3 separate regions of the Homo sapiens genome follow, and all the other regions are linked to region 3. Evidence: promoter capture Hi-C in 16 types of primary human blood cells and fetal thymus (Javierre and others, 2016). All regions are on one chromosome and are shown on one strand. The core of a region is centred on a gene start or on the middle of the fragment in contact, and the rest is flanking DNA. Distances in the headings are between cores, read along the strand shown. Region 1 has its middle 78 kb from the start of IPMK. Region 2 has its middle 100 kb from the start of IPMK. Region 3 holds the start of UBE2D1 (ubiquitin conjugating enzyme E2 D1).

Region 1 (2,700 bases), core at 148-2,647, 150 kb after region 3:
ATTATTTTCATTATTAGTTAAAAAGGATTCAGTACCTATTATCAAGATATATACTGGCTGGAAGAGAAAAAAAACATGTCAGTGTGGGATAAAATAGTGGAATTATGATTGACTTCTCAATATCCAGCAGGGTTGTGAAGACAGAGAAGTCATTCTATAGCATGCAAGAGGAAGAAGAGAGTGTGGTTTATAACATCATAGTGCTAAAGAAGGTTGTATTGAATTCCACCTTAATGCCTGCTTCTTTGTGAATGCTATGGGGAGGAGCAATACTATGTGATCTAGTAGTTTTTTCCCTCCTGATTAAGATAAGCTGCCTAACTGCTGAAAAGAATAACATGGAACCCCACTGCCACAGTCCCCAAGTTATAGCTAAGTGTAAAGACTAAATAAAAGCTAAAGAGAAAGAATAAAAAGTGAAAATAATTATAAAATAAGTAAAAATAATCACGTGGGGATTTTGTTCAAATGCAGATTCTGATTAAGTAGACTGGACTGGACTCTGATGCTGGTCCATGGACCACACTTTTGACTAACAAGATTTGCAACAAGTTCCTTGGAGGTAGGGTGTGCACTACCACTTGAACAGAGGCCCAACCAGAGCTGTTGGAAAGCCAAGAGAGAGTGCTGGCAACAGAAAAGGAAATGGGCTTAGAATGTGAAGAAAATACAGCCAGAAATGGCTTAATATAACGCTGGCCACTCTTAGTTGGAAGAAAAAGTTCATTGGAAAGTTAATGTCAAGGGCATTAAACCATGCCTCCTGCAACAAGTTTTGGGAGTCCTGTAATGATAAACTTGTTATTTTCTATTATTTGTGCCATTGGCCTTTTTTTATTTCTGTGTAAATAGTTACTACTTTGCCAACCTAAGAAAATAATCTGCGTATGCTTGTTAATTACATTGTAGTTGTCATCTGACAACATTCTAGAGGTGCTTTGGGCGTAAATGACATGGTACAATTGGCTCAAATGCCAAGAAATGTTGAAAACCAAGTCTTTCTAAGAGGAGCTAGGAAGGTCTTTAAAATTATTATTTAATGAAAGTTAACATAAATTGTTAAAGTGCCTTGGAATGGACTCAAGGAAAATGATGAGTGTGGAAGCATCTTGTGGAGATAGTGCACGGAGGAGTAACCAGTCTCACCTCATACACTTTAAAGATCATAGACTTCAGGTAAATAGACCTAGTTTATAGCTTTCGAGGCTTGAATCCAGTTCAAAGAACATCCTCATATTTATAAATTCATAAAGAAACTGTAATACCATAACTTTTCATTCTTACTCGTTTTAACTCTCAGTTTCCACTCTTCATAGTGGTTGGCCCTGACCCACCCAAGTTATGTCAGAGGTGGAGGGGATAATCAATCTAAATCATGGACTAGCCTGACCACTCTATCCACAATTATTGCTGCATAACACCCCGAAGTGGCAGCGTAAGTCTTAACCCCCTTTATTATTTGGATGGATCTGCAAGTTGGCTGGGCAGTTCTGCTGATCTTGGCTAGACTTATGTCTCTAGAATCAGCTGGCAGGTCATCTGGGGGTGCGGGTAGGACGATGTGTCTCATATTTCAGCAGGCTAGCCCAGGCATTTCTCTGAGTTGTAGTTAGGAGTCCAGAAGAAGAAGCTGAAAACATGCAAACAGGTTTCAAGTTTCTGTTTAAGTTTGCTACCGTTGCTGAATCCAGAGTCAGAGTGGGAGGACACTGAAGAAGGGTGTGGATACAGGGAAGTCACAGTACAATCAACCACATGCTCCAACCTCAGATTAACTCACACAGGGCACCAAGAAATTCTGTCTTGTCATAGTCCATGGCTTTATGGGGCAGCAATGTCAGAACAAGTTAGACAATGTGGATATTTAATTCTGTGGATCAGAACAGAGGCAGCAGGACAAGCAGCATATGCGAGTTTTAAAATCCCTAAAATGTTTCTTTTTTTTTTCTTTCATCCGTTACCTCTTCTAGGTAGAGCCCGCTGGGCAGTCCTAGAGTATTGCCATCTTCCACTTTAAATTATGATGTTATCGTTTGGAGAATGGTTTCGTATCCTAAGCAATCTTGTCTTATTCATGAGCTTCCTTGGTGATCAATGTCAACTGATTTTATTTCAAGTGTAAACAAACTGTTTGCTTCTATGACAGAAATTATGCAAAAGAATGCATATCTTCTACTATGTGTTGTAAACACCATTTCACTAGTTAATGTTGAAACTCTTTTCACAGATCTAGTAGTTTTAGTTCAGCTTTTAGATGAACTTGAATATGCTGTTTTATTTCCGTTTAGCTGGATTTTCATCATCCTAAATCAGAATTTCACATTAATTCGTTGTCATTTTCTCCCTGCTATTTTTTTTCTTTATAATGTACCAAAGAGGGTGAAAAGTCTTAGGAGGAATGCCTATTTATAATGTCCCTTTCCCATGAACTTCCCATTCATTTTTTCCCCAGAGGGGATACTATTAAGTTTTTACCCTGTTATTATTGGTAATAATATGTACATTTGCATATGTAATAATTGGTTTTGAATATGTTTCTTGGGGATAATAAAATTAGTAAATCTTCTTTGAAAAATGGCAACATCTAGCACTCTGGCCTTATCCAAACATGTCAGTGTGTTTATCCCTAATTTCTAGTTTCTAGCTCTAAGTAAATTTGCCTAATCTTAAGTAGGAGGATTAATCAGACCTGTGCTCAGT
Region 2 (2,700 bases), core at 197-2,696, 170 kb after region 3:
GTGATAATCTAGCTAGAACCTGCCAGGGTAACAAAAAGGCCCAAGGCTCTCTGATAGTATCATATTTTCTCTACCTGCTCTTTTGAACCTAATCCAGTCAGGAATTGCCTTGGAATAGAGGCAATGAGTCAGGTGCCCTGATGGATGCACATGCTGTTGTCTGTAGATAGACAGAAATTTTTTTTTTGATTGTTTTTAAAAAGAAAATTTAACACTTTAGGCAGGAGGCTTTCATTTTACCTGCCTTTTCTCTATCCCTCCATGGAATCAGTCTTTCCAGCACTGATAGAGTGGGCAACAGTCACATTCTGTAACTCTGTGTGACTGCCTGTTCAAGAAGCGGCTTGGAATTTGCGATGATTGCAGCATGTAAAAGTCAGCTCTGTTGTGGTGCTATAAAGAAAAGAACAGACTAAGTTGCTTTTAATGCAGACTGCAGAAAACAATACCAGGGACAGAATCAGGGGAGGGGTGTTGAAGCAGAGAGTTAGGAAAGGAAGGGAGGATAGCCACGACGTGCTCACCCACAGCTGCTCTTGGTTCCACCATTTCTTGGCTGCTTGATTGCACACAAATCACTGAACCTCTCTCTGCCTCATATCCATCTGAAAATAGGATAATAATAATAATAGTAATAGTACTAATATCTACCTTATAGACTTGTTGGGAAGATTAAGTGATTAAAAAATATTTATAGGGTGTCTGCTCTGCACAGACACCAAAATAAGCAATAAAAGTATTAACTTTTATTATTATTATGACTATAGTTATGATATAAAGAGCATCATAGGAGATGATAAGTGTTTTGGGGACAGCTGGCTTAACTCATATATTTTTTTAACTATTCTACTTCTTTAAAATCTCCTTTTATAATCCAGCAGCAAAAACACAATTATTTGATTTATTCTTATTTTTGTGAAGTAGGTAGGAAGGTATAAATGACCCCATATTTCAGGATGAGAAAAATGACTCAGAAAAGAAATAAGACAACTTATTCATAAAGACTGTAGATGGTAGGGTCAGAATGTTGATCTCAGATGATTGGACTATGAGTGATATTCACAAACGAACCAAGACAATGTGAGACAAAGACCTATGTTTCATTATGGGGGGTGGAATGAGGGATGACCAGGGGAAATGCAGTATCTCCTGTGAAAGGAGAGCTAGGATGAGGTGTCAAATTGGGTGTGTCCTCTGGAGCACAGGAAATGCAGGGACTGGACACCTGGGCATGATAAGACAGTCGCCTGACCAATTCCTGTTCACCCTTCAAGCCTCAGCTGCCAATATGTCACTTCTTGTGAGAAACCTTTTCTGATCTTCAGACTAGGTTTGGCCACCTCCTCCTTTCACAGTAGCCCCTGCTTCTCCTTGCTGCACTTTCATGTTTATAGTTGGTCTCTCCATGGATTGTCAACTTGGAGGGCAGATATTGTCATGACTATGCCCCAGGCTGAGCACTGTGACTGGCCCACAGCTGGGGCTCAGTGCATGCGATTGCTGAATGAATGAGCAAGAGGGAGGCTCGAGTGCCTAGAAAGTCGGATTGTGCTTAGTCATCTCTCAGCTTCTGTGGACTTTTGTGAAGCCTCCAGACTTAAACATCAGCTTGATTCTAGAACAAGCGTCAAGAAGAGGTACTCAATCTCCAACAGAACTGAAATTGCCATGGGTGGTTGAAGGTGAGAAGAAGTAGCAGATTTCTTTTATTGCTTAAAAATTGTCATCAGTGGTTGGGTGCGGTGGCTCACACCTGTAATCCCAGCACTTTGGGAGGCCGAGGTGGGTGGATCACCTGAGGTCAGGAGTTCAAGACCAGTGTGGCCAACAAGGTGAAACCCTGTCTCTACTAAAAGTACAAAAATTAGCTGGGCATGTTGTTGCATGCCTGTAATCTGAGCTACTCAGGAGGCTGAGGCAGGAGAATCACTTGAACCCAGGAGGTGGAGGCTGCAGTGAGCCGAGATCGCACCACTGCACTCCAGCCTGGGTGACAGAGTGAGACCCTGTCTCAAAAACAAACAAACAAACAAACAAACAAACAAACAAACAAATGTCATCAGTGTCTTCAGAACTCAGGACACAAGACGAGAAACACCAATCAGAAGTAAGGAAACACAGGTTAAACACAATGTCCTACAAATTGAGACCCAGGAAATGTAGAAGAGCTCAGCCTGCAGACCACAGAGAAAAGCAGGAAGAAATTATTTCAGGGAAAGTTTTCAGGATGGGGAGAGTCAAGAAGCATGTGCACCAGGCAAACCGTCCTGCAGGTAGGACCAACCCTTGCCAGTTTTGGAGCTGGTCGAGTCTGTTTGTGGAAACTGCAGATCCTCTTCTGGATCATCACACAAGTGTCTCGTCATCGCCCTGCTTGCCTCGCAGGTTTGATGATTCCTTTTTTTTTTTTTGGCTGGAGTGCAGTGGCGCAATCTTGGCTCACTGCAAGCTCCGCCTCCTGGGTTCACGCCATTCTCCTGCCTCAGCCTCCCGAGTACCTGGGACTACAGGCGTCTGCCACCACGCCCGGCTAATTTTTTTTTGTATTTTTTTGTAGAAACGGGGTTTCACCGTGTTAGCCAGGATGGTCTCGATCTCCTGATCTTGTGATCTGCCCGCCTCAGCCCCCAAAGTGCTGGGATTACAGGTGTGAGCCACCGTGCTCAGCGATGATTCTTTTTTTTTTAAATTCCACAACAT
Region 3 (2,700 bases), core at 147-2,646:
CACTGCTCTAACATATACTATTGCTATAATGGACTCCTGGTCAAAAAAGTGGATAAAAATGTGGGCATCAATTTCTTCTGAAACAACTACAAAATACACTGTCCATTGTTGCTTAACTTAGTGAAAAGCACTCCCTATTTAACAAACACATTCTCAATGTTGCCAGTGTGAACTGTAACTGTAAAACCTAAAACTTGGGTCAGTACACAGACCAACAAGAAATAAAAATGAACAGAAAGAAATGCCCGAATCTGAATTCTGAAGGATGTTCGCATCTGAAATGGTGGCAATAAATACTGTGAAAAAAAGACGATTCCATACACAGGGTTGAGATGGGTAAACAGTTGTTGGATGAAGATATATATTTCTTCCTCATTCTATACCCATGTGTCAAAGCATCAAAACAATTTATTTGCGACAGTTTATGTTGTGTCTCGAACTTTACATCTAAGTTTATCATGAGGGGGAAAAAAACCTGTTTGGCTTGACTCACCGTGAATCACAGCCAGGAGGTCATCTTGTTGTGTATCAGCAACTATGTTTTCGCTACAGCTATGTGACCTGAAGTGGCAGCAGCAGAGGCACCAAAATAGAAGGGGCAGGAGCCTTCTCCTGACTTCTTGGCCGCAAATGGGCTTTCCAGCCCATTCGGGCAACTGAGCAAGAGCCAACCGCAGAGGAGAGAAAGAACCAACCCGACAGCTCCGCGGAGAAAGGCTGCAGGCCCACCCCACCTTCCTTGCCCTCCCGGGGAGGCCGGGTAAGCAAGAACATAAAAGAGGACAGGCTTAAGAAACAGCCTGGAGAAAACACAGCATGACAGGGGTCAAAACTAGCCCCATGGAGGGCAAAACCCGGCCGTGACCGTGAAGCACAGATTTCGGGACGGTCTGGACGCGCAAGAGGCTCTCTACCCTGGGGCTCCGGGAGCGGCTCCGGCGCGAACGCGCGCGGGCCCCCAGCCTTCAAGCTCCTCCGGCCGCCTGGGACCTGACCCTGCTCCCACCTCACCTGTCCGATGCCCGCTGGCCCGGCCCGAGCCTTCAGCTCCCTGCCCGCACCCCGGCCCACCCTTCCATCCCTTGCTCTCCCCGCATGTCTCTCGGGACCACTGGCCGAGTCAGCGTGGGCAGGGGGCCGCTGCCCCGCAGCCCCAGGCCCGGCCCCGGCACTCACTTTCTGAATCCTCTTCAGCGCCATGGGTCAGGGATGGCGGTGGGGACACCGGCCGGCAGGGGTCGGCTGCGGGGCTCAGGGGCGTGGGTCGTCGCGGGTTGGGCTCGCTGGCAGCTAGGCTGGCTCCGCGCGGTGGGTCCCCGGTTAGCCGCTCCCTGGCTCGCTCCGGGCGCCGGTCCCTGCTCCGTGTGCGCCCGAGCGCGAGTGTGCGCGAGTGTGCGGGCGGGGACGCCGGCGAGACTCTTTTGTTTCCGCTTTTGCTTCTGGGAAGGAGCCTGCGCCCTCCCCGCCGCGCCCCGCCCCGCCTGGCACACTGGGAAGTGTAGTTCCAGCCCTGTCCTCGGCTGCAGGCCCCCGGACGCTGCCAGGTAACTTACTGCTGACCTCAGCCAGGCAGCTTAAGGTGAGAGCTGCCGGGGGCTGGAATTAGCCTCTACAGTCTCATTTAGAGCAAATTGCTGAACCTGGGGCTGCGCATCTGTAAAATGGGGATAACAAATGAGCTCCTAACGCACATAAAGGAATTTCTAAATCATCAGTTAGTAATTCCTTATCCAATAGGTGCCACAGCTGGTTTTATTATTTTTACCTTTAAAGATTTCACTGTCTTTTCTCAAATATATGGATTGTCTCACTCACCCTGCACACATGCACAAACTCATATCAGACCCCCTACTTACCTCCTTGGTTCTTATTGCAGAGGAAAAAGGTGTCTCTTCTGTCCAATGTGCAAATCTTCCTTGTCTGAGTGCATTGTCTGCTCGTAGGTATGCCCCTCCCATAAATTACCCACTTCGAACACCGAGTTCTGGGCTCTCACTCCCATCATTGGTTCCTTCCCTTCCGTTGACAGTCCCTGACCAATAGTCAACTCACGCTCCCCACTCTCCAATTCCTATGCACTTGTGTACCCATTAAAACTTGGCTTCTTGGCCAAGATGAGATTTGGGTGGGGACACAGCCAAACCATATCACTCAGGGATATAAAGATGGCAACAAATAGACACTGTGGACTACTAGAGAGGGGACCGAGGGAGCAAAGGTTGAAAAACTGTTGGGTACTATTGTCAGTACCTGGGTGATAAAATCATTCATACCACAAATGTCAGCATCACACAGCATACCCAGGTAGCAAACTTGCATATGTGGCCTCTAAATCTAAAATAAAAGTTGAAAAACAAAAACAAACAAACAAAAACAGAATCTTGAGCCCCACTCCAGACATGCTACATCACACTTTGCAGTTTAATAAGACTCCTAGGTGATTCAGATGAACATTAGGGTTTGAGAAGCACTATGCTGGAAGGCATAAGAGGAGATCCTAAAAATGCAGATTTCCTTTAAAGGATTTAATTTAGCAGTAAGTTTTGGGTGAAGCTCTGGAGTCTAAACTTTAGAACAAACTTCCCAGGAAGTTAGGATGCAGGTATCTGAGGACACTTTTGAGAATCTCCACCTTGAGCAAATCTTCAAATCCTTCTAAGCCTCAATTTCCTCACCCATAACTAATGCAATAAATGTTGT

What was found. Contacts are between HindIII fragments. The CHiCAGO score rates a contact against its expected background, and 5 or more counts as called.
Region 1: a contact is called between a fragment that was not itself captured here and the fragment with the promoter of UBE2D1 in region 3, in 1 of 17 cell types (monocytes). The highest score is 6.5, in monocytes.
Region 2: a fragment that was not itself captured here is called in contact with the fragment with the promoter of UBE2D1 in region 3 in 1 of 17 cell types (neutrophils); the score reaches 5.3 in neutrophils.

Annotation. Positions count from the first base shown.
Region 1 is chr10:58,188,408-58,191,107 of GRCh38, reverse strand. No RefSeq gene overlaps it. Among named protein-coding and RNA genes, the nearest start is that of IPMK, 78 kb to the left of the region's middle. The HindIII fragment of the contact is 2,947 bases long and covers 1-2,700 here.
Region 2 is chr10:58,163,546-58,166,245 of GRCh38, reverse strand. No RefSeq gene overlaps it. Among named protein-coding and RNA genes, the nearest start is that of IPMK, 100 kb to the left of the region's middle. The HindIII fragment of the contact is 3,813 bases long and covers 1-2,700 here.
Region 3 is chr10:58,333,702-58,336,401 of GRCh38, reverse strand. It overlaps UBE2D1 (ubiquitin conjugating enzyme E2 D1), which reads right to left and starts at 1,396. Exons shown (of 7, transcript NM_003338.5): 1 at 1,177-1,396. The coding sequence starts at 1,200. RefSeq lists a silencer at 1,012-1,531 and enhancers at 1,339-1,633, 1,232-1,732. The HindIII fragment of the contact is 6,404 bases long and covers 1-2,700 here.